Linked DNA regions of Homo sapiens: regions 1, 2, 4, 5 and 6 are each linked to region 3. The links are contacts of gene promoters, found by promoter capture Hi-C in blood cells and fetal thymus (Javierre and others, 2016). All regions are on one chromosome and are shown on one strand. Each heading gives the region's core, a stretch centred on a gene start or on the middle of the fragment in contact. The rest is flanking DNA. Distances are from core to core; before and after follow the strand shown. Region 1 overlaps ZNF280D (zinc finger protein 280D). Region 2 has its middle 25 kb from the start of UNC13C. Region 3 holds the start of RSL24D1 (ribosomal L24 domain containing 1). Region 4 has its middle 6.5 kb from the start of RFX7. Region 5 has its middle 4.9 kb from the start of UNC13C. Region 6 overlaps UNC13C (unc-13 homolog C).

Region 1 (4,100 bases), core at 1,108-3,607, 1.5 Mb before region 3:
TTAAAGCACAAAAGCTGCCTCTTAGCATCTGTAAGGTGTCCTGCTTTGGGGGACTGCTGTGCCAACTCCAGCTGTCTCCACGCAGAAACTTAACCAGGGAAGGCACTGGTTTGCTTATACCATTGTTAGGGCTGTGTGCCTCTGATGTTTTAACATCACTACAAATACTGTTGTAATTGTGTCTTGCTTTTGTGCCTTTCATTGATAACCCCTGATTTGTATCTCTTAGCCCCTTTTGAAGTGGTCTGGGTTGCTGGAATCATTTTGCAGGCGAGGAAACAGAGCCTCAGGGAGAGGACTTTAATGAGGTCACTGACTAGGAAGAGCCAAGGCCAATTATATTAATAGAACCTTAGGTCTTCTGACTCCTTCTCCGGTGCTCAACTCTAGTATATACCATTTTTGTGGGAATGAGGTAGATGAGAATAGGCAAGGAGGCTCACTTAAAGATTTTAAGAAACATTACTCAGTTGCCCTTTCGTTGATATTTTTATACTTTACTTTTGAAATGCGGTTGTTATGTTGCCCAGGCTGGTCTCAGACTCCTGGGCTCAAGCTGACCTCTCACCTCAGCCTCCGTAGCTGGGATTACAGGTGTGCACCATCTAGCCTGGCTTTTATATTTTTATTCTCGAGTTAATTTCTTAACTTTGCAACTTGCTATTTTTTTCGAAAATATTGGAAAGTTAAATAGCCCATTTGAACACTTAGTTTTAACGCTACCTTTTTGCCATATTTGCATTTTTCCACTTATCTCACATTCTGTTTTCTGAACGTTTCAAAGTGCATTACGGATATGACAGTTCAGCCCTAAATGCTGTATGTGTGTCAGTATGTATTTTGTAAGAGATCAAGGCCATTTTTCTGTGTAACAATACCGCAATCACACTTAAGAAAGTGAAGAATATTCCTTAAAATCTAACGTGGTGTAGTATATATTCACATTTCCCCCCATTTCTTCAAAATTCCTTTTCAGTCTTTTTTTTTTTTTTTTTTTTTTGAGATAGGTACTTGCTCTGTGTCCCAGGATGGAGCGCTGTGGAGCAGTCTTGGCTCGCTGCATCCTTGACCTCCTTCCTGGGCTCAAGCCATCCTCCCACCTCGGCCTCCTGAGTAGCTGGGAACCCAGGAGCACGCCACCACACTCAGCTAATTTTTGTATTTTTTGTAGAGATGGGGTTTTGCCGTGTTACCTAGGCTGGTGTCAAACTCCTGGGTTCAAGTGATCCACCTGCCTCGGCCTCCCAAAGTGCTGGGATTACAGATGTGAGCCACAGCACTGGGCGAAATTGACCTTTTGAAGAGACCTGGTCTGTAGTCTTTCAGAATAACCCATATTCCATGTTTTAGTGATAGTTCCTCCTGATAGTGTTTAAATTTGTTCCCCCTATCCTCTCTGTTTTCTCTAAACTTGGATTTGGGTCTAAAGGCTTGAATATATTTAGGTTTAATATTTTTTTGACAGGAATACTTCATAAGCCATGCAGTATGCTTCATTGCATACAACATCCAAAGGCACATAAAGTAGGCTTGTCTTATTAATAATCCTAAATTTGATCTCTTAGATAAGGTGGTGACAAGCTATCTTTCCATTGTAAGCATTTCCTTCTGCAATTAGCAAGTCATTTGTGGTGTGATATTTTGGCATTAGTAGTTGGTAGGAATTTACCTGCAGTAATCTGATAAACACAGTTGGGAGCAGTCGTTTAGGTATGGCTTTGGAAGTTAGGAAGAAGAAGAAGTGGAGACAATTCTGGAGGAAATACTAACCCATCTACTTTAGGGAACTTGGAATGCTTCTATGTGTTGGCATCAGAGCCTAGGGAGACTAGGAGAGAGGAGGCAGAAAGTAGATGTCAGAAAGCTTTGCCTTCTTTGAAAGTTTGCTTAGGACCATTTTAGCCATAGTAAGCTATGGTAAATAGAAAAGTTCTGAAGTAGTTTGATGTTGGAGGATTGCAAGTGCTTCAACTGGAACATCTGTCCAGTTAGGCTACTAATCCAGTCCTTTTTCATTCCAGTGTTCTATTAATCAGCATTGGCTCACTGAAATAGCAGTTTTCACAAATGAAAAGTCAACTGTAGTTTTAGGTGACAGGAAATTGGATATTTCTATTGACAACATACTTTGTTATTCCAAAAGCAAGTTTTGGAAGATGAGGAATACTTACGACATATTCACTAATTAAATATATAAATCCTGAATAGTTTTTTTCTTGCTTTAGAAAGGAATTAAAAACTTTGAATTTTCAGATTGCTTTAAATAGTGATTTAAATAATGACTTGATTTAATCAGTGCCTTATATCAAAAATTGTATGTTTAGAATTTTGATTTATTTCTCCAGAGCAATTTTAAGGATTCTCTTAACCCTCAGTATACGAGGAAAAGTGTACAATTATCACTATCATCTGGGTCAAAAGGGACTGGTTTTTTTTGCATTTTACGTTATTATGTATAATTTATAGGAGTAAAAATAAAGCATAATGTAAAACAACTTATTGGAGCTTTTAATAAGAATTTCAATACAGCAGATATCTTTGTATGTACTTAGAAAAATAAAAAATAAAAAATCTATTTCATGCATTTAATTACATAACACTCCTACAACAAATATACATCACATTTGAACGCTTTGCATAAACATTCTCATTGTAACACACATTTTTTTCTTTTTGAGTTTCTGTATCTGTACAAAGAACATCTTTCTTTCTTCCCATTTTCAGATCTGTGCAGAAATCATTGTGGTTAGAGGGTAAGACAACATTCCCTTCCTATTTTCTGCAAGTTATTTTCCTAGTTGCATGAGGAATTTCTTCTTGGTAACTTCCAGTTTTGTAACTGAAGCTTTTCCCGTACAATGAAAGTATACTCTGAACTAATATCAGTCATAAGCCATCTTCAAATCATTCTCTTCCAAGTATTGTTTCTGACCCACTTTTTGAATGTGTCACTTCTGTAGTCTTTTTGTAATACAGATCACTTCAGATTAATTTATGCAAGGATTTTAAAATTCATTGATGGTTGAGAATGCACTGAGCTGAGAAGAGTAGGTATAGTTTTCCTTAGGACAATAAGAATCATGAATTATATTCGAAATCCAGATTTTGTGCAGTTGACTTCTTTTGCTTTTCCATTTGTGAAAATTCACAGAAGTTCAATGCTGTTCTTCCTAACAGTGCCAACTAAGGAGAGTTTGATGCTGTGTGATATTCAGCCAAGTCTAAATTTGTAAAAAATTTGTCACAAGTTATATGTCTGACAGAATTTTGAAATTTTTCTGTCATTTCGTATATATCAATCTTGATTCTACTTTCATGCCTTTTCCCAATCTCTGTGTAGATCTGCATTGTCCAAGCTTATCATATTTCATTGTCACCTGTTGCTCAGATTTTCATTTCATGTTTTTCACCTTTTGAAGGTATTTCTACCTGAAATGGGCAACATCATCTGAATGGAATTAACTATAGATGCTCCTTGAATTACGATAGGTTACATCCTTGATAAACCCGTCATTAGTTGAAAGTATCATGAGTTGAAAATGCATTTAATACACCTAACATACTGAACATCGTAGCTTGGCTTAGCCTACCTCAAATATGCACAGAACATTTATATTAGTCTACAGTTGGGCAACATCATCTAACTCAAAGCTTATTTTTTAATAATAAAGTGTTGAGTATCTCATGTAATTTATTGAGTACTGTACTGAAAGTGAAAAACAGAATGGTTGTATGAGTACTGGAAGTAATGAATGCACTTTCACACCATTATAAAGTTGAAAATTGTTGTAAGTTGAACCATCTTAAGTTGGAGACTGTCTGTACTTAGCAACTTTCATACAAGACCCTGGAACTATTTGTCTTATAAATACTGATTCTAAATTTCAAATGCTTCCCTGATAGGTTCTTGCTTGTCATTCCTTCTGGGTTGTCTTTTTGCATGTACATCATCAAAATGCAATACTGGAAGAATTTTTGAAACCTTTGATGGTTCATAATTTTGTTGAAGACAGGACGGCCATCTTCTTTGCTCCACAATTGCAAGATTTTTCAATTTCAGATTTATGAGCAACTAACTAGAATGATCAATCCAATGAATT
Region 2 (4,063 bases), core at 291-2,790, 1.2 Mb after region 3:
TCTTGAGCTGCTGCCACTTCCCATTTATATCCCTACACATTATCACTGCCTCAAATTTCTGTAGAAAATACTCAAACTGTATTTAAAGGCTTTAGAGATGGAATTTCAACAGCCCTGTCACTTTCATTGTGTTTCAGCCAAGGGTAGATTGCTCTAATTACCTACATCTTTTTGGCTGGAGCAGTTTCAACTTTTCTCAATTCCTACTTATATCTTTCTAATGAAATAACAAGAATACAGCAGCTGAAAAATCATGTCTTTTAATAACCCCATCTCATAATTTTTTATTTCTTAATTCAGTATGTTTGGTATCAAAAACTATTTCTAAGTTGTTCTTTTCCCATTGTGATTTCTCTCCTAGTTTTATGTGTGTGTGTGTGTGTGTGTGTGTGTGTGTGTGTAAGAAAAAGTCATAGCTTTGATATCATAGTACAAAAGGAAGTGGAAATCTTCACAAAGCAATTCAGCATCTGTGGCTATGCAGGGGAAATACTATAGATAATTGAAGATATTATCTAGATAGCTTGCAATCAAAATGTATGTTCACCTGAAATTGCTTTGCACTTAATGGCACTATTCTGGCACTTATGCTACTGAACATCTATGTTCCAGTTCTCTTCTTATAGTCATGAAAATGTTATAAGTAGAGCCACAAGTTGAATTTCATACGTCCTAGCCAGCTCATTTCTTAGCATTATAGCTGGACTGTGAAAATATGCTGGTGCCTTGGTCATTTTGACTTCGTTATGAAAGCCTAATGGTACAACCTAATAGTACACTGATACTCTGTGTAAGGCTAGAAGCATATAGTCTATTTACTGTATTTTTTGAAGCACAAACTTAACCGTAGCATTTTGTAATTCATATAAAGCTTCTCCTTTAAGTTTGAGAGAATGAGAATGCCCTCTCTCTTAAACATGAACCAAAATATTAAGGGAAATCACTATTTCTTTATAAGCTTGCCCTGAGAACCATCTAAATTCCTAACTCTGTAACAGGCCAATCTAACTCATACCCCATTTGAAGCCTATAATTAGACGGCAAAACCTGGGCAGCTCACTCAATAGCAAGTTGTGAAAACATACGGTGACATCTAATGTTGGATTTCATCTTCATCAAAGGAGACTGCATAATAGCAGGATGATAGCTTTGGGGTTAGAATCAATTTATAACTATGTGTAACTTTGTGTAAAACACTTTTCCACTTCTTGGACTTTAGTTTTCTTTCTTCACTCAATATTTACTTCCTTGGCAAATACCAGGTACTAAATTTTTAAATATATTTATAATTATGCCCAGCATCTATCATCATATGAAACTGCTGTGCTTAACAGTAACAGTTCAGAAAGAAACATTGTCTCTTCTCTCAGGAAGCACACACTCTAGTGGGACAAATAGAGAAAACATTGTGTCACTATAGATATGCACATGGAACATGATGTAAGAATGCAGCAGGAAAACAATAAGCTGATGATAACCATTTCCAACAGATTGTGTTAAATGAGATTCTGTATGTAAAATTGGGCACCTAGTAGTTTTTCCATTTACAATCCATGAATACAAGAAATTCAGGCTCTTTAAAGGATGGATAGGAAATGATGAATGAGAAAGAAAGGAGACAAAGATAAAGGAGGATATGAAAAGCTGTGCTGCCTTGCTGCTCCTTCACTATGAAGCTCGGAGCCCTGCACCCCCAACCTGGCTGTACTCTGTCCCTTACAGTCACCATGGAAGTCTTGATGCCAACTGCACGTAGCATCTATCCACCAATTAACAAGCAGGTCTGGACTGTGCTCTGACACTGCTTCCAGCAGATGGAAGAGCAAGGAGAGTTTTGTGATGTGGAAACTTATAAATCCTAAATGTTAAATAGCTTAGAGGCAATTTAACAGGGAATCAGAAAGCCCTGTGATCTCTTCATATCATCCCTTCTGATTCTATGACCTCACAGGTTAAATTAATATCTAATGTGCTGGCATATGTAATAACAAAGGCTGTTGGACATGCAGGTTATATCTGAATATTCATTCTGCCTCTGAGCCATTGCCTCCAGTCTCTGCCACAAAGCAACTGCCCCCAATTTGTAATGCATTCATGTTTACAGCAAACTGGTTCAAGCTTTATTCAAGTCTGCAAAGGAGAATCTCTATTTTGCTCCTCTTGTAATACTCTTGGGTGATGCCTTAATATTACTGTTCCAGAAACACCCCTGGATCTAGAGAGTCCTTAGGGTTGAATTGGACAGAAGTTGGAGACTCATTGCTAATGTGCCTTGACTTCTGGGGCCCTCCTGAGGAGAAACACCTGGAGCACCACGAGGCAGATGCCCATGGGCACAGCCTAGCTGCCTGCTTAGCTGGCAAGCTCTTAAAAGGAAAGCCACTTCTCATTTCCCTCAGGATTCAAGAGTGCCTACTTTGCATCAGATTAATGGAGGTTTTTCCACACAGAAATAAAATGTGATCTCTGATCATTTAACCATGTGACTCTGAGGAAAAGAAGAATTCTGAAAGTACATTCCGAAATCCTTTCATCACATCAAAGTCTGAAGCATGATATAAAAAGAAGCCTAAATTACCCCCTGAAAGCAGCTGTTGTGAGGTGCTAATTCAATTACAACTTATTCATATCTATTTCACTTCAGGTTTCGAACATAGAAGTGGCATATATTTCACTCTGTACACTTCACATAAGTACAAGACACTGAAGAAATCTTATTTTGCTGTGTTCATCCCCAAACCGCTCAGGGGAAAAAAAAATTAGACACTCTAAGAGACTGCAACATTTAGAAACTTTTATTACGTATGCCCTGAATATTATGAACACCATAGGCCCCTATGCTTAAATGTTTTCTCTGTATACTTTAAGTAAGAAGGATGGACTTTGAATCCCCTATTTCCTTACAATTTTTAAGAGCATCAGTTTGCCTGGGTCATCTTATGCCTAGCTTCAATCAAGTGCCAGCACAGCGGATTCCTAATTTGGTTATACATTAAAATCATCTGGCGAGTTTTTATTAAAACAATTCTGATGCCCAGATCACAGCCCACGCAATTAAATTACGAAGTCCATGTTGGCAGCCAGAAAGAAGTCAGTATTTTTTAAAGGTCCCAAGGTGTTTCAAATAACCATCAAAATTTGAGAACTATTTGGGTACAAAAGTTGGTACTCAAATGTTTGATAACTAGTAACATAAATTAATTGATAGGTTAGAAGGTGAGTTGATGGGGGAAGAGAGAATGAACGGGAGAATTATTTAGTTAGAAACCCTGAATTCAAGATCTGGCCTTTTTATTTGTGTGTAACCTTGAGCAAGCAAGTCAAAAGCTGAATGAATCTATTTCCTTTTCTGTCCAATAGAGATGATATTGTCCTGCCAGGTAACTTTATAATTTTAGCCACTATTGCCACATTTACTTCCTAACCACCCCACTTTTCTCCAGATCAGCACACCTTTAGGGCAATGTATTCAACATCTTCAGAATCCCTACTCTTTAGAAATACTGCCCTCTTTTCTTCTCAGGACAACCAAGGAATGGTTTACTGTGTCCTTGGCCTTAAGAATATCACCTCAGCTCATGACTACATGCCTCAGCATTGCCCAAACCCTCACATCATCCTATTGCTGATACATAAACCAACGCAGTATAGGATGCTATGCAAAGCACTGCTAGGCTTTGTTCCTTGCAGTCAACGTTTTCCATTTACAGAGGCTTGAGGGATAAATACACTTGAAAAAAGTTAAAATCCTCATGACCAGCTGGTCTCCAGATCCACTGGGACAGAGCCCAAAGAATCACTTGAATTTTCAATAAGATGAATTTAAGTTTAACATAAAGATAAATGTCCTAGGAGGAAAGGTTACTTGCACTTTAAAAACAAATAAAGGATGTGATACCCATTTCAGCGCTGTATTATAAGTAATTTTTTCCTAGCATATGGAAGAAAAAGGATCCTTGAAGGGTAGTGGTTAAAAACATGGATTTGCGGGCCAAACAGAACTGAGTTTTTATCTTGGCTCCACCACTAGCTAGATTAAGCAAGTTGCTTAGCCTCTCAAAGC
Region 3 (4,476 bases), core at 1,388-3,887:
GTATGAAATTAAGAACACAGATAAATGATGTGGCCTCTGACATCAAAGGTAAGAGGGTAAACCTGGGTGTTCATGTATATGGGAAGGGTATAAAATTTCTTGGTGAAGTAGTAGGAACAAACAGAGTTGGGAAGGAACTGTGTAAAGTTTGCAAAGATTGGTGAGGCTCTTCCATAATTGTTGAGGAGGATAGGAGAGGAAGAGTAAAGAAAAGTAAAATAATTTTCAGTCTCTTGGTTGACAATAAAGTATTGGGCAGATGTTTATTACTAAAATTTCTGGTATGTGCCTTTGTTATTTAACATTACTCTGGAATTACTGGTCGAATGACTAGACAAGAAAAAGTATCCAATAAAAGGAAAAATGTGTGTATTTGAAGATTATAACTATACAAACTGATTCTAGAGTTAAAATGAAAAGATAAATGTTGAAGAATAGCCAGATAAAAAATGAATAAGAAGGACAAGGAAGGAAGGGTGATATGGTTTGGCTGTGTCCCCACCCAAATCTCATCTTGAATTATAGCTCCCATAATTCCTATGTGTTGTGGGAGGGACTTGGTGGGAGATAATTGAATCATGGGGCCAGTTTCCCCTACACTGTTCTCATGATAGTGCATAAGTCTCACGAGATCTGATTATTTTAAAGGGGTTTCGCCTTTCATTTGGTTTTCATTCTCTTTGCCTGCTGCCATCCATGTAAGACCTGACTTGCTCCTCCTCGGCTTCTGCTGTGATTGTGAGGTGTCCCCAGCCATAAAGAGTCCATTAAACCTCTTTCCTGTATAAATTGCCTAGTCTAGGGTATGTCTTTATCAGCAGCATGAAAACTAATAGAAAGGGAGAGGAGGTAAACCCAGTTATTCAAAAAATGACAATAATTTAAATATTTGGGCAGTGGCACATTAACAAATAAAACGATGGAACTGAGTCCAGAAATGGAGCCATAGATGTGACATTATGAGTGAGTGGGGGAAAGGATGCTTTATCAACATACAGCACTGAGGGAAAGACACTGGAGTCTTATGTCATTTATACTTAAATTCCAGACGAGTTGAAAATTCAAATGCAAAAAAATGAAACTACAAAACATAAGAGAAAACATTTTGAAAAACAATTTTGGAGTGAGAAGTGCAGTTTAAAGGAAAGTACCAAATCCAAAATCATAAAAAAATTGGATAAATCTGAATATATAAACAACATATTTCTGCATGGAAAAATACCATGAGCAAAGCTTAAAACATTGATAGGGAAATAATTTCTAAATGCATGTCAGCAAAGGACTAACCTTAACGTGTAAAGTGCTGTTGAAAATCAACGAAAGAATAGAAAACTGCGTAGGACCTGAACAGGCAATTCACAGAAAAAAGCTGAAAAACATTGTGAAAGATTCTTAACATCATTTGTAATTAAATTCAAGTTGAAATAATAATAAGATAAATTTTCATCTCAGGTTGGCAAAGATCACTTTTCACAGCGGGGTAGTGAAACAGACATCTTATTTGTTGATGCTGAGTGTTAATTGGTAAAAACTTTTGGAAGGCAATTTAGTATTATCTGCCAAATTTTAAAACTATTTATCTATATCCAGCTCCTCTGATCCAGCAGTTCTACATAAACCCTCTCCTGAAAAAGCGTACCAACAGATACTTATTATATCAAAAGATAAGAATGCCCATCGATTAGTGACCAATTAAAATACTTTCATACAATGGCATATATATATGAAAAAGAATGTTAAATACCCTTTTACAGTAAAATATGTATCAAATGCCTATTATGTGCCAGGGACTGTTCTAGATACTGGGATGTAGTTGTAAACCAAACGAACTGAAATCCCTGCCCCTCATGGAGCTCACATTCCAATGAAGGGATACAAGGTAACAGCAAGATGCAGAAAAGAGTAAATAGCATATTAACTAGTATTATAAAGAAGAGGACGTAGAGACAGGCAAACACACAAATATACATGTTTGCCTATGCACAGAAAAGCTCTGGCAGGTAATAAATGGAACTGTTTTGCCCCTGGGGAGGAAGACCGCAGGTCTAGGGAGGGAGTCGTAGTTTCCGGCGAAAATATTTGTTTACTACATATGCATATTAATTAAAATGGGGGGGAGGCGGATAACACGATTTTATATTTAAAAAAATTGCTGGTAAAGTCCTTGGAGCATCAGCAACTCAACCGTTTTCATTGCAATGTTCGAAGCAACGCTGGATTGCAGGGTCTTCGCCGCTTACACCCTGCAAATCACTGTGGGACGAGAATCGAGGGCTGGTCTAGGGCAGGCAGTAGACAAATGAGTTAAGAGAGTGCTCTCGAGAGCACTCCGAGGCAAAGCACAAACCAAAGATACATAATACTTGCATAAATGCCGACACACAGAGAGAAAAAACTAGGCGCTGTGAGAGCAAGTTCACAAGGTGGCGCAGAACCACATTTCCCCAAAGTAACAGCGAACAGGTCTAGTCTGCAGCTCTGCGCCTGCGTCAAACGGCAGCGCATTTGACCACACGGCCGCCGGAGGCACAGTCGTGTTCGCATCTGGTCTAACAGACCCGCGAGAACGAAGGACGCTTGCCTTTTTCCGGTCGGGGAAGGGGGAAGAAGGTAACTTCCGGTGACGGGGTTGCATCACTTCCTCTCAAGCTTGGCGTTTGTTTGGTGGGGTTACACGCGGGTTCAACATGCGTATCGAAAAGTGTTATTTCTGTTCGGGGCCCATCTATCCTGGACACGGCATGATGTTCGTCCGCAACGATTGCAAGGTAAGGCGGTCGACACCAGTTCTTGCTTCAGCCTAGCTCCCGCGGTTCCTGGGCGCGGCGGCTCGGTGCTGGGTGCTTCTGCGTCTGCCGTGTTTGGCCCGGGTTCCTCCCGTTGTTCCCCTGGGAGGGTGGCTTAACTGGGCCTCCGTTCTCAACGTTCCGCTTCGGGGGTTTCTCCTTGCCCGTCTTCCGAGCGGCGCTGGCCACCACGCCACCCTTGGGTGGCGTTGGCAGCGAGGAACTTCAGGAGCGATCCCAGCTAGCGCCTACCAGGAATCTTGGATGTCTGTGAGGGCTGTTTGGCCACTCATGTACTTGGGCCAAATTCTTGAATCCAGTAAACTTTGTTGAGTGTATACCCTGTCAGGCATTACACTAAGGTCCATACTAAAGTGTAGAGGTTGATGGAAGTGTTCCGTATTGCTTAATGGTAGAGTTATGTATTAAGTTACTGCAGGTGAGTTGGGGAGGGTCCTGTACGGAAAGACTCAGCATAGAGGTGATATTTATCTTGGATCCTGAATTTTGCGGAAGAAAGCGGAGGGGGCCTTCTAAGTGGAAGGAAAGTGAACATTTTGAGAAAAGGCAGAGAACGGAGCAAATACATTTGTTTGAGGAAGTGACTGGATTGTAAATGATGATAGAGCCTTGGGCGTAGGGCTACAAGTATAATAAGTCTGTAAACGTAAATAATAAATATGAGTCCTAGTTGTGAAAGACGTTTTGAATGGTACATGAATTTGTCCTGTCATTACAGAATGAATCCCGTTCCTCTCTTTCTCAGAGAAACACATTGTTTCTCAGAATTTGATCTCTTACGTTTGCTTCTGAATTACTGGGCGTTTACAGATTCCTGGTTTTCACCAGATCTATTGAGTTGGAATCTTTGGGGGAGGGGAAGAGGGTCTAAGAATCTGTATATTAAGGTGAATTTGACGTGCTAAATAATTACAAGTCTGACTTCTTCACCTTATATCTCTGTAACAGATCAAAGATATTGACCTCATTAATTAGATCCAAGGGATTCAGCTGAAAGTGACGGACCAAAGCCATGTTTGATAACGTAAAAGAACCTAGAAGATTTTGAATACTTGCTCTCAGGAACATGATAAGAAGTTTATAAAAATGAACCAAAAGATTGCCAGGTTGGGGTCTAATTCAGAGTAGGCAGTATGGTTTTATACATGATGTCGTTACGATTTTGTGATTTTCGTCCAGGATGCTTGTCGGCTGGATATTGGAATTAGAACAACAGATCGTGAGAACTGTCAAGACCTGGGTATTGATTTGGTAGACACAGTGGAAGTTAAGTTGATGAAGAATAAGGACAGTGTTGAGTTGGTTGGGAGTCACCAGTGGATCCAGAAGAGAGTTGTTGGAGGAAATAAAAGATAGAGGGCCTGAAGCACTAACAAAGAACAAGTATCTCATCTTTTTTTATGCTTGATTTCCAAACCTAAATCTCCTGAGCTCCAAATCTGAATTTTCCATTGGATGTACCTAACAGTAGGTACAGTGGGCCTACTGAAAGAGAATTCCTTAGTACCTCAGATCTTTTTGCTCTGTGAATTAATACCACTCTTAAGTGCCCGGATAGTTTTGCTAGAAACATGAGAGTCGTCTGAATCTTTTCACCTTTTGTATCTAGTTATCAAGTCTTACCTATCCTGCCTCTGCAAAGATAGTGGTGTCTTTGCCTTCTTTCTAC
Region 4 (4,345 bases), core at 1,639-4,138, 1.1 Mb before region 3:
ATTTTAAGTACAAATTAACTATGTTCTCAGCTCCTACACCATTATTATGAATAAGATATTGAGCTTTCTTATTAGCCCATTCTGCTTTTTCTGACATTCTGCTTTTATTTTGTGGCCTGGACAAAAAAAAAAAAAAAAGGTTTTTCTAATAGCTCAATTCAACAAACATTCATTGTTTGGCTACTTTGTGGGAGTGACTATAGTATATGTTGGAGATATAGAGAAGATTAAAAACATACTTCCTGACCAAATATAGTTTGTAGTACTGGAAGTCAGGTAGAGGGAGTGTAGATGCAAGAAATAGGCAAACAAACCTACAATTAGCCTACAATGAGATAGTATGACATAAGGCTGTACAAGGTACCACAGAGCCACAGAAAAGAGACAGCTAACACAAACTGGCTGGGAGTGGGTAGGGAATGGATAAGGGAAAACTGCTGAGAGGATGCAATTCTTGACAAAAGAGTGAGCCCTTCACACCATAACTTTATGTGTAAGACTCTCTGGGGGAGGAGAAAATCACACTAAACTAAGGAAGTAATGAAAGTCTTCTCCTGAGTGTCTGAGAAGATAATTCAGTTGCTAGAGCTGCACTGGAGCCTAAACAAACTTTTCACTCCCCAGCTCCCCTTAAGTTTCTATGCCGTCGCTTGTATGTCTGTTCCTGGATTTCTGGGTGGTTATCCTGAATTTCCCCAAGGCCTGGCCAATAATCCATTCCTCTTCATTTGCACCTGCTTTCTCTGGTGCTCCATGAGGAAATTTACTCAGCTTCTATCATTCCCTGGGCCTACTGCTCCTATCAACACTAAGCCATTATCTTATCTTCTTTAAGCCCTCTGAGCTCCTCTTCACACAGTTTCTGCTTAATCATTGCCTCTTCTGGTTGTTGTCTAATGGTTTCTGAGGTTAGCTTTCTCTTGTGTATCTTTCAGCTACTGTTTTTACTCCCAACTGCCTAACCTTCTCTCCTTATCATATTCATACTCTCCAAAAAAGGAATCAATCCGTTAGCTAATTACTAACATCTTCCTTGGGCAAAGGTTTTATTGAGTCAGCTCATAAGCCACTGTCTAGCCGGAAGATTGATTGTCATGGTGTCAAATGTTGAGCCCTGTTCCAACTAGGGGGCCAGGGTTACAAGAGACAAGGATGGAAGCTTACATCAACAGAGCCAGGCTTGGAGGGTGACTGTGGATATGGCCGACAACCTGAGGCTTTGCTGAATTAGGAGAATGACACTACAGGCATAATTAGAGGCATTTTAAACGGAGAAAACAAAAACATACTAACATCAGCCACAATATAACACTGGCATAACTTCAGGAGATGGTAAGGGAAAAAGGGATGAAGAAAAATAGAAATTCATCCTTGGGAATAAACATTTATGTACAGGGAAGAGCAGAGAAAGTAGATCTATTCTTGGAAAGGAGACAGGTTGGCCCACTTCATAAGAAATTACCTTTCCTGAGATCCACATAAAGAAAATCCAAAGACATCTTCTCAAATACATGAGGAGTGACTTACAGAGTGTGGTAAGTGTCATGGTTCCTTGGCCTAGCCAAGTTGACACATACCCAGCTATTCAAATCATACTCTAAGCTGGATGTTGCTGTAAAGGTACGTATTTTGCAGATGTGGTTAATTAGCTACAATCAGTTGACTTAAGTAGATTATCCTAAATAATTTTGGTGGGTCTCATCCAATCAGGTGAAAGGTCTTAAGAGCAAAACTGAATTATTTTGTTTTTTTTTTTCCCTAAGGAAGAAGAAATTTCACCTGTGGGTTGCAGCATCCACTATGCAAGGCATTTTGGCCTTCCCTACAGATTTCAGACTTGCCAGCCTCACAATCACATAAGCCAATTCCTTTAAAATATGTAAACATACAAATATAAAATATATATCTCCTACTACTTGTTCTCTCGTAGAACCTCGCTTTGTACACAGTATGGAAGCACAAACTCCTCAGACTAGCTTGAATACACTCGGAATTTGGTACCCCATATAACCTTTATCATCAGCTGTTCACTCCAATTAGACCAGTCTTCTGTGTGTCTTGTCATTTGCATGCTCGTTTTCCTGCTTCTACTCACACTGCCTTTCCCTTCGGACTTGTCTCCATTCTTTCTCCCACCTTTATAAATCCTTCATTTTACTCACACTCTAGCTCCATCCCAAGTCCTCCACGCCACTTTTAACTTTAGCTCCTTTTGCTCTTTCTCTAAACTTCCTTAGCAGTTATTAGCTACGCCATTCACTGGTTTTTAATCTTATATATCTCACCTACCAGTGTCTTTTTTATATAGCATCCACCACTAGGAAGTATAAATTTGCAAGTACAAATTTGGGTGTGCAAGACATGTCACTATTCTTTAAATCAAATTAAATTTACCACAGACTTAAGTGATCTCAGCCTTAATTCTGCTGGAGTAGAAGGAAATCCAATCTCAGTTCTTACTGGGCTTTCCTCTCTTCCTAGTACTGCAGTAGGGTTTGAAAGACTTATGTTGAGCCTAGAAAATGGAAGATGGACTTTGACATCCTCACTGGCAATTCCTCCACTTATGGGCCAAGAGAGGCAAGGGAATCCAGCCTCCCTAATGGCATTGTGCATCCATATGAGGTTAGAGTATCTCCCTGGGGTACTCTTATTCTTACTACTGGAACCCCAATCTTTGATTTTCTACAGCTCATGGGAATTTTTTTTTCTGTAATTCCACCTGCCCATAGATGCTTCTTCTTTCCTCTTTTTTTTTTTTTTTTTTTTTTTTTTGAGACAGATCCTCACTGTGTCGCCCAGGCTGGAGTGCAGTGGCACAATCTCGACTCACTGCAACCTCCACCTCCCTGATTCAAGCAATTCTCTGCCTTAGCCTCAGCCTCCCAAGTAGCTGGGATTACAGGCACCTGCCATCATGCCCGGCTAATTTTTGTATTTTTAGTAGAAACGGGGTTTCACCATCTTCGCCAGGCTGGTCTTGAATTCCTGACCTTGTGATCCACCTGTCTCAGCGCCCCTTCCTTCCTTCCCTCCCTCCCTCCTTTCTTCCCTCCCTCCCTCCCTCTCTCTCTCTCCCCAGATGTGCTTACCTTTTTAACCCCCTAGCAACATCTCCTCAAGGAGCAACAAACTTGAAAGACAGATTGCTGGGTCCAATTCCAGAAATAACATTGACACTGCATTCTAAGGAGTCCTGTTCCAGGAGGCTTCATTTAAAATGTGAATGGTGCCCCCTGGAGTTGCCTAAGAGAGAGCTCTTGTCAGACAACTTTCTGCCTAGTAACACAAAGTTCCCTTGAAGCCTGCTTGGAATGGAAGGGAGGGAAAATATAAGGAGCATAAAACCCAAATAAATAGCTCAATAAATTATCCTGTCACACACCTTTTGTTTGTTTTTTGTGTTTTTATTTCACTTTTAAAAATATGTATGGGCTGACATGTGTAGTGTTCCAATTAGATTATGAGCTTCTTGAAAATGAGAACAATATTTTACTACTTATTTTTTAATCTTTCTAAGGTCCCAATATAGTAACTTGTACATAGCAGGTTCTCGAATGTGCCTTGAAAGGAATGGAGGAATGATCGACCTTGTGAATTATTGGTTAGGCCCCACCTGTTCAGACTGCACTGGCACTGACTTCCTCACTGTGGGATTGGCTCTGGTGTCTTTTCATTGTCACTTTTAGTGTTAAGTAAATAACTAAAACACTTTTAGTGTCACAATTTAGTGTTTTTCTTTATCTGCTTCTGTTCACAGCCACTCCTTTCCTGAATTTCTAAGATATCAAATTTCTACTTGGGACTTTTTGGCCCAAGTTAAAGTAAACACTTCCTTTAAAATGTATGTAGATGATATTAACTTGAACCTTCTTTAATGTAAAAGAATTGAAAGTTACAACATAAACATGTATATGGTACCAACAGTGGAAAATTTCTAAGTGAAATCAAAGCGGGATCTAGCATTTGTTTCATCATACTACTCACTTGAAGAGCTGAGTATATTATGTGAACTTTATCCCACTAATCCTTAGAGATAAGCAAAGGTACTTGAAAGAATGACTTGTACAGATAGGGTCACATAGCCAGGTAGTGACAGTGTTAACAGTCTGCTGCCTTGACAGTATTTGAATAGTTAGGCTACTTAGCCTTAACACTGGGCTATACATTGTTTTAATGACATAATGACATATTTGTGCTCTAACAGAAGAATTCACATTTTCACAGCATACTTACATTAGCACTCTTGGTATTGAGAACATGTATCAAAATTTGCCAATATTAACTTAGTTCTGAACCCCCCAACTTCCCTCTTCTGTAATCTTGCTGCTGCTTTTATTTTTCT
Region 5 (4,480 bases), core at 1,447-3,946, 1.2 Mb after region 3:
CATAAGCTGAGCCAGATCATTTGTCTCATTTATGGTTCAGGTGGAAGAAAAGCAAGGAACCTGGGTCACTGCTTATTTTTTAGTACAGTAGTAGTGAAGCTTGACTAAACCAAAAGAATCAAGTAAAGGGGTCATTCTTGTAGAATTGTGTCATGGCCTGTATATCTGGCTTTAAGCAATAGAGGAATCCTTGAAAAAGCATAAACCAATCCTGTGTGCATGGAATTGTGTTTTCAGTGTTTTAGAAAACCTCGATCTTTATTTTAGGGAATTGGTAACCAACCATTGAACCTCACTATTATATTTTTTAAAAAACAATACTCTGACCAATCATTGGCTCTCTGTTTCCATGCAAATGGATTGGCAAAATGGATTAGTTGTCCAGATAATTACGGAGAAAAATATGATTATGTTTAAAACAGCAAGTTGGCATTTCTAGCTCTATATAAGTAAATAATGTATAGGAGAACGACTATTTGGAAATAAACCATCTTATGCAATTTGGAAAGATGTGCCTAGCATAGATTACATGGTAGTAAAACACACGTTAAGTTCTGTTCTTAAATTAAAGCTTTCCATTAAAGTATGGGTCACTTTAAAATGGCACTTTTGAGTAGAATTGACAGTATGTAACTTTAGAGACTAGGCCACATAAGGTACTGCCACTTCCTGTTTGCCCACTCTGGTTTGCTCACTCTGGAGGAAGTTAGTTGCCATGTCATGAGGATACTCAAGCAGCCTAGGGGGAAGTCCACGTGGCAAGGAACTAAGGACTCCTGCCAACAGCCAGACACAAACTGTGACCTCCTGCCAACAGGCATGCGAATGAGCCATTTTAGAAGCTGACCCTCTAACCATGTTCAAGCTTTCAAATGACTGCAACCACTGCTGACATGCTAAATGCAACCACATGAGAAACCCTGAGGCAGAAAAACCCAGGTAAGCTATTCTCGAATTTCTGGCCCACAGGAACTGTGAGATAATAAATGTTCATTGTTTAAATGAAAAAAAAAAAAAAGTGCTTTTGACTTTTCCAACTGAGGAATGAGATTATTTTTCAACTGTGGGATTTAAATGCATCTAAGTGATTTAAGAAGTAAAATTTTAGGCTCAACAAATTCTGTCACAAGATATGGATGCTGTACTTCTCCAGTCAGTATTGGCAGTGCCTTCTAAGCGCTTTCATAAATCTCTGTTGTGGCACTGATTTATTATACAGTATGCTAACTACTATTTTACTCATCTGCCTGATTTTCCTTGCTGGACTGCGAGCTCCTTGAGGGCAGAGACCATGGTTCATTCATTTTTATATCACCAATGCCCAGCTGAAGGCTAGACTCATAAAAGGTAGGTTGATGAGTGAGTGAATAATAGTGTGCTTGCTTAGTAAAGCACAGAGTTAATGAGGCTAAGGACACGGGTTGAGTCCCTGTGTAGCCAATTAGCTTTGTTCTATTTCTTGGTCCAAATGGTGCCCTTAGTTCTCACCAGCTGTCTCACAAATTTGTGCCAGAACAAACCTTCTAACTATATATTCCAACAATAGTGAGTCAGTAACACAATAATAGTGTCTAAAACTTAACACCCTTAAAAGTGTTATTACATACATTTTCTTATTTGATACTTATCTTTAAAAACTTGCAAAACATTATAGTAGTATTATATGGTTCCCATATTGTAATGATGAAACAGGCTCAAAGTCTTGCAAGACTTATCTGGTTGTACAGAACTAGTAAGTGGTTAAGACTGGATTAAAAATCAGGCCTTGAACGTCTACTTCAAAACTGGTTCCCCTGTAAAGCAGACAAGTATTTACTTATACAAGCATAATAAATGGCACAATCTGTAATTTTTTGAAAAAAATTAATAATTAAATGGAGTAAATTATTCAAGCAGACACTTTTTTAGAATATTTCTGCTTGGGTAATGATTGTTAGACTTTGGATAGATATCATTTGATGTTGAATGCTGTTTGGTGGGACGGCATCTATACTTTCATTCTGTTGTTCATTTTTTATTTCCTTCAGTAAAATTAAAAATGTGTCAGCACTGTATTCCAGCAAATCATCAGATGAAGGGACTTTTAAAGAGGTTCTAAATTTTTTAAAAGACACAGCATTTGGATGACCTCAAGTAAAAATTTTTTTTCCACTTTTTGGATTTTTTTTTTTAATTTTGTTGATTCAGGAAACTGATTTAGTGATATGGCACAGCATTGAAGAGCTCAGACTCTGAAATCAGGGTGCCTGGTTTCCAATTTGGGCTTTAGCAAGTACTATTTTTCTGACTTTAGTAAAGTTTCTTAACATTTCTAAGCTTGCTTTATCTGCAAAATAGGTATAAATGTAATTTCTATTTATACTCTTGCTGATGAATCAAATGAGATAATCCATGTAAAGCAACTTAGATAGTATATACTTATTATGTAGTAGGTACTCAATAAATATTAGCTAGCAATAATCAATATATTAAACTTCTTACCAAATATTGTCATTTTCTACTATAATCTGCCCTCCATTCATAATGGCGACGTTTCCAGAGGAGTAAATGTTTTAAAATTCTTAATAAGTTTTAGAATACCAAAGAGCCATTCTTTGATTCAGAGTTCCACTACTTTCCACCTGTATGGCCATATGCTATTTATGTAATCTCCCTGAGCCTCAGTTTTCTGTATGTGTTCAATATGTCTATTTCTTTTTTCCTTTTCTATTCTTTACAGATTTCCAAATGCAAATTTCAATTTGGCTTGACAAAAATGAAAACTATAATCTTAATAATTCATATTCTCACTAAATGTCTTATGTACATTAGACATTTTTCCATGCTTGACAATAAAGTTGATGTATATATTGAGCAATCTTGTTCAATATTGGAAAGGATGAATGTCTTAAATACGTATGTACACAGTGATAAATGATCATTGGGTTTTTCTTCCAAGAAAACAACAATGACTTCCTTTCCTTTTTTTGAAGGCTAGAGTACAAATGTGAATAACATCACATGCCAATCATTCAGGAGTTATTCAATATGCACTGATGACCCCAAGAGCAGTGAAAATAACCGTGACAGAAGCTTCCTGATGACTGGGTGAGAATTATTATTGACCACAAACTGCATGGATTCAAAATTTTGTGGCGATGTCCTTTGTCTAACAGGTTTTTAGAAACTATATTTGGTACTAGAGATATTTTAATTACCCAATTTCTTGTTATAACCAAGAATCATACTGAAAGACCTTTCCACCTAACTGCCTACTATGTGTATAAAATGTGAAGCAAGTCAAGAACATATTTCTTTGAAATGGTCTAAAATATTTGTATCAAAATAGATCCACATAGAGCACTTTATTTAATATGATTGGACATAGCATCCTTTCTTTTTACAGGGTTTCAGATTCTCCCGTTTCCTAGTTGTTATCTCCAAAGAGCACGTCCACATGTTCTGTAGAGCCCAGAAGGGCAAAAGCTAAAACAAAACCCTAATTTCTGGTTTAGGGCCAGGGAAAAAGAAGCTCTTATAAGCATCGGAAGGGTTGACTCTAGGTCAGCTGTGAGCTAAGTAATGTTTTCTTCAGAACCCTTCACTGTCCAGGTCTTTGCCGTTTTTTCTCTCTCCTTCAGCAAACTCTTTGGTTACTTTGTCAATCTCTATTGAGAGAAAGCTCTATAAAGTACCAAAAGCTAAATCACAAATTAATAAAATATATCACATGGGAGGAAAAGGAAGTCAAGACAATGAACCCATAGTCATTTAAAAATAATTCTAACTGGTATTTTTGCAGTTGGTAATTTTGATTTATGAGTCATCTATAAAATGAAGGAAAATAAAGAGTGTTACCTATTCATGTTTTTGTTGTAAAAACCAAATGACTTAAAAATTTAAAGTACTTGACAGTATCAGCTGTTCCTTTTATCAACACCATCATTGTCATTTTATAAATAGGTGCTAGAGGAAGAGATACTTACCTCTGGAAATGCTAGAAGGGAACAGTATCTGATAGGATCATAGTAAGAATTAAAAGGGAGATAATAAAATCTTTCTCATATAGATGAATTTTCCAGTTTCCAGATATATTTCTTAAAAGAAAGTATACTTTTTAAAACTCCAGAAAGATCTTCTACTCTAAAATATTGCCCTCTTATAACACTGAAATTCCAACAGCTAGTAGAGACTTTAATGAATCATCCTATACTAAAAAATAAAAATACTTCCATTTTTATTTTCTTCCTGCAAATATTTTCTCCCATTCTGTTAGTTACCTATTCATTTTGCTGTTTCCTTCATCATACTGAAGTTTCTAAGTTTGATGTCTAATTGGTCTACTTTTGCTTTTGTTGCCTGTGCTTCTACTGTCATATTTAACAAATCACTGAGAAAGTCTTGAAGCTCTTCCCTGATGTTTTCTTCTAGGGGTTTTATAGTTTTATATTTTACATTGTAAACTATAATCCATTTTTTAGTTAATTTTTGTACATGGTGT
Region 6 (4,676 bases), core at 1,507-4,006, 1.1 Mb after region 3:
ATACTAAGAAATATACTAAGAAAAAAATACATATGAAAATAATTTATATTATCCATATCATTTATATATCCATATAAATGTATATATAAGTATATATAAACACACATAGATATTCATTACATCTCTCTCTAGTTATATCTAGAATACTATATCAAGATAACAAACCAATTTACAAGTGGACAAAAGAGTTGAATGGAGACTGTACAAGAGAATATATGAATAGGGAAAAGTACACCTAAAGATACTCAATATCATTAGTCTTGGGGTAATGAAATTTGAAACCATAAGATACCATGACAAATACTTTAAAATAGCTGCAATTAAAAAGACTGACAATAATAAGAGTTGATAAGATGTGAAGCAACACAAACTCTGCTACACTTCAGGGAAGAATGTAAAAAACTACAATCACTTTAGAAACAGGGTAGCTATTACTTAAAAATTTAAACATACGTTTGCCATATAACCAAGGTATTCCACTACTAGAAAGAAAAATTAAAATACATGTTCACATGAATACTTAAATGTGAAATTTCATAGCAGCTTTATTAATAATACCCAAATACTGGAAATAACATAAATGTCAATCAACACATGAATGTATAAACAAATTTTGCTCTATCCAAACAACAAGAAATATATTGCTGATACACATACAAATATGGATAGCTCTCAACACCATTGTGCTAACTGAAAGAAGCTAGATGCAAAATTGTACACACTGCATTATTCCATTATTTGAAATTCAAGATCAAGCAAAACTTGATCTTGATGAAAATCAGATCAGCAGTTGCCTTCACAGCAAAGATAATTGACTACAAGGGGGCATGACAGAACATTCTGTGGTGATTAATTTTTTTTTCTATCTTGATTGTGAAATTGGCTACAAGGATTCGTACGGTAGCCAAAAATGTATCAAACTGCACACATACAATGGATGCGTTATACATACAGAGAGATTATACCTCAAATAAGTCAATTTTAAAAATCTATTGGTACAATTCACCATGTTAAAGGATTGAAAAAAGAAACCTAAAATTATCTCATTATATACAGTAAACTATTTTTAATAAAATTAAACATTTATTCACAACTACCAAAAACTAACTAAAGAACCAAAACAAAGCACAAGCATTTTAAGAAACTAAGAAAATCTCCAGAAATTTCCTTGATCTGATGAAATGTATTTATTAAAAACATGGTACACCATTTAGAAATTATTAAGTGTAAGATCAGAAATCAGACACATAGGACTGTTATCATTTCTACAATTTAACAAAGTGCCCCAAAGCCCTAACTAATGAAATAAGAAAAAAAAAATGGAACAAGATTGCAACAAAATCATAATTTACAGACTAGCTGCCATATTAGCAAATATTACTGGCTACATTAAAAAGTCCAAAGCAACCTATAGACAGCCTATTAAAATCAATAAGAATACTTGTTAAGTTCACTCCATATAAGATCAACATAAAAAACTTAACACTATGCCCATATTTTAATGATAAAAATAGGTAATACAATACAAAAATAATTCATTCACAATAACATAATGATTATATTATGTCCATAAGATAAATCTGACAAAAGCAGTGCAATACCTTTACAGAGAAAAATATAAAGCATTTTTGAAAGAGATAAAAGAATACATGAATAAACTGACAAAATTTTATAGGTAAAAAGCTTAGTATATAAAGATACAGTCTTCTAAAAATTAATATATAAAGACAATACACTCAGAATCAATAACACGATAAGATTTTTTTGAAAGACTTCTACAAAAATAGTCAAGCAAACACTGAAAAAAGAAGAAAAAGAAGAGCATCATTGCCCTATTAAATATCAAGGGAAATTAAAAAGCTGTGATAATTGAGAAACTATGATATTGTCATACAACACATTTAAAAAATAATTATTGCAACAAAACAGAGGGCCACAAAACACACACACACAGGCATACCACAGAAACATAGCAGACTTAGTTCCAGACCACCATAATAAAGCAAATATTGGAATGAAGTGAGTCACACACTTTTTTTGGTTTCCTAGTTTAATAGCATTAGGTCTAAAAAATAATGTGCATGCCTTAATTAAAAATACTTTATTGCTAAAAATACTAACAATCGTCTGAGCCTTCCGCAAATTGTAATCTTTTTGCTGATGAAGGTTATTGCCTCCATTGTGATGAATGCTGACTAATCAGGGTGGTGGTTGTTGAAGTGTGAGGTGACTGTGGCAATTTATTGAAATAAGACAACAGTGAAGCTTGGCACATTCATTGACTCTTCCTTCTGGGAAAGATTTGCCTGTACCTTGTGACACTGTTTGATAGCATTTCACCCACAGCAGGAATTCTTTCAAAATTGGACTCCATCCTCTCAAACGCTGCTGCTGCTTTATCAACTAAATTTACGTAGTAATATTCTAAATCCTTTGTCATTTCAACGATGTTCAATAACATCTTCACCAGGAGTAGATGCCATCTCAGAAACCCATTTACTTTGCTCATCCATAAGAAGCAACTCCTCACTCACTGAAGTTTAATCATGAGTTTGCAGGAATTCACTCCCACTTTCAGGCTTCATATCTAATTCCAGTTCTCTTTTTAGTTCTACCACATCTGTAGTTACTTCCTTCACTGAAGTCTTGAACCCCTCAAAGTCATCCATGAGGGTTGGAATCAACTTTTTCCAACTCCTATTAATGTTGGTATTTTGACCTCCTCCCATGAATCACAAATGGCCTTAATGACATCTAGAATGGCGAATCCTTTCCAGAAGGTTTTCAATTGACTTTTTCCTAGATTCATCTGATAAATCACTATGTTTGGCAGCTATAGCCTTACAAAATGTATTTCTTAAATAATGAGACTTGAGAGTCAAAATTACTCCCTGATCCATGGGCTGCAGAATAGATGTTGTGTTTGTAGGTGTGAACACATTAATCTCTTTGTACATCTCCTTCAGAGCTCTTGAGTGACCAAGTACATTGTAAATGAGCTGTAACACTTTGAAAGCAATCTTTCTTTTTCTTCTGAGCAGTGTAAGTATTCAGTAAACCACGTTGCAAATAAATGTGCTATCATCCAGGTTTGTGGCTCCATTAACAGAGCACAAGTAGAGTAGACTCAGCATAATTCCCAAAGGCTCTAGGATTTTCAGAATGCAAAATGGAGCACTGGCTTCAGCTTAGAGTCACCAGCTGCATTAACTCCTAATAAGAGAATCAGCTTGTTCTTTGAAGCTTGGAAGCCAGGCACTGACTTCTGTTCTCCAGCTTTAAAAGTCCTGGTGTCGTTTTCGTCCAATAGAAGGCTGTTTTGTCTATATTGAAAATCTGTTGTTTAGTGTAGTCACCTTCATCAATTATCTTAACTAGGTCTTCTGGATAACTTGCAGCAGCTTCTGCATAAGCACTTGTTTCTTTGCTTTGCCTTGTACTTTTATGTTATGGAGAGAGCTTTTTCCTTTAACTCCATGAACTGACCTCTTCCAACTTCAAACTTTTCTTCTGTGGCTTCCTCACTCCTCTTACCCTTCATAGAATTGTGGAGCCTTAGGGCCTTGTTGTGAATTAGGCTTTGGCTTAAGGAAGAGAATGTTGTGGCTGATATGATCTATCCAGATCACTAAAACTTTCTTTATATGAGCAATAAAGTTGTTTTGCTTTTTTATCATTTGTGTATTCACTGAAGTAGTATTTTTAATTTCCTTCAAGAACTTTTCCTTATACAACTTGGCTAACAGGCACAACAGGCCTACCTTTCAGCCTATTGACTTTCGACATGCCTTCCCCGCTAAGCTTAATCATTTCTAGTTTTCAATTTAAAGTGAGAGATGTGTGACTCTTCAGCTCACTTAAACACTCAGAGGCCAATGTAGGGTTACTAATTGGCCTAATTTCAATATTGTTGTGTCTGCAGAAATCAGGATGCCAAAAAAGAGAGAAAGAGAACTAATGGCCTATATGTGGAGTACTCAGAATACACACAACGTTTTTTAAGTTCACCATTATAAATGGGCACAGTATGCGGTGTTCCAAAACAATTACAATAGTAATATCAAAGGTCACTGATCACAGATCACTATAATACACATAATAATCATGAAAAAAATTAAAATATTTCAAGAATTACCAAATGTGATACAGAGACATGAAGTGAGACTGTTCTTGAAAGAATGTTGCCTAACCACTTGCTCAATGCAGGATTGCCACAGACCTTTGATTTGTAAAAAAACGCAATATCTTTCAGCTTTCCTTTACTGAGTAATAAGATAGAAGCTATAATAAAAAGTCTCCGATCAAAGAAAAGCCCAGGACCTGATGGCTTCACCACTGAATTCTACTAAATATTTAAGAACTACTAACAGCAATTCTACACAAATTCTTTAAAAAAAAAAACAAAAAACTGGAGAGGAGGGAATACTTCCAAACTCATTCACCATGATCAAGTGGGATTTATTCCTAGGATGCAAGTAGTATGGTTCAAGATACTCATGTCAATCAATGTGATACATCACATTAACAGAACCAAAAAAAAAAAAACCGTAAGATCATTTCAATAGATGCTGAAAAAGCATTTGATAAAATTTAACGTCCCTTCATGATAAAAACCGCAACAAACAGAGTATAGAAAAAACATACCTCAAAATAATAAAGGCCATAAATGACAAACA

Evidence for each region. Contacts are between HindIII fragments. The CHiCAGO score rates a contact against its expected background, and 5 or more counts as called.
Region 1: a contact is called between a fragment that was not itself captured here and the fragment with the promoter of RSL24D1 in region 3, in 1 of 17 cell types (non-activated CD4 T cells). The highest score is 6.3, in non-activated CD4 T cells.
Region 2: a contact is called between a fragment that was not itself captured here and the fragment with the promoter of RSL24D1 in region 3, in 1 of 17 cell types (M0 macrophages). The highest score is 8.1, in M0 macrophages.
Region 4: a contact is called between a fragment that was not itself captured here and the fragment with the promoter of RSL24D1 in region 3, in 6 of 17 cell types (non-activated CD4 T cells, total CD8 T cells, naive CD4 T cells and 3 more). The highest score is 12.1, in non-activated CD4 T cells.
Region 5: a contact is called between a fragment that was not itself captured here and the fragment with the promoter of RSL24D1 in region 3, in 3 of 17 cell types (M1 macrophages, M0 macrophages and megakaryocytes). The highest score is 7.7, in M1 macrophages.
Region 6: a fragment that was not itself captured here is called in contact with the fragment with the promoter of RSL24D1 in region 3 in 1 of 17 cell types (M1 macrophages); the score reaches 5.6 in M1 macrophages.

What each region holds. Positions count from the first base shown.
Region 1 is chr15:56,728,407-56,732,506 of GRCh38, reverse strand. All of the region lies in intron 1 of ZNF280D (zinc finger protein 280D), which reads left to right. Among named protein-coding and RNA genes, the nearest start is that of ZNF280D, 3.1 kb to the left of the region's middle. The HindIII fragment of the contact is 981 bases long and covers 1,867-2,847 here.
Region 2 is chr15:53,951,605-53,955,667 of GRCh38, reverse strand. It overlaps a transcript of UNC13C not described here. Among named protein-coding and RNA genes, the nearest start is that of UNC13C, 25 kb to the left of the region's middle. The HindIII fragment of the contact is 1,160 bases long and covers 961-2,120 here.
Region 3 is chr15:55,195,102-55,199,577 of GRCh38, reverse strand. It overlaps RSL24D1 (ribosomal L24 domain containing 1), which reads left to right and starts at 2,637. Exons shown (of 6, transcript NM_016304.3): 1 at 2,637-2,768. The coding sequence starts at 2,688. RefSeq lists enhancers at 2,673-2,832, 2,626-3,517. The HindIII fragment of the contact is 1,416 bases long and covers 1,236-2,651 here.
Region 4 is chr15:56,248,173-56,252,517 of GRCh38, reverse strand. It overlaps a transcript of TEX9 not described here. Among named protein-coding and RNA genes, the nearest start is that of RFX7, 6.5 kb to the right of the region's middle. The HindIII fragment of the contact is 3,453 bases long and covers 1,162-4,345 here.
Region 5 is chr15:53,971,277-53,975,756 of GRCh38, reverse strand. It overlaps a transcript of UNC13C not described here. Among named protein-coding and RNA genes, the nearest start is that of UNC13C, 4.9 kb to the left of the region's middle. The HindIII fragment of the contact is 756 bases long and covers 2,319-3,074 here.
Region 6 is chr15:54,118,772-54,123,447 of GRCh38, reverse strand. All of the region lies in intron 2 of UNC13C (unc-13 homolog C), which reads right to left. Among named protein-coding and RNA genes, the nearest start is that of UNC13C, 140 kb to the right of the region's middle. The HindIII fragment of the contact is 978 bases long and covers 2,268-3,245 here.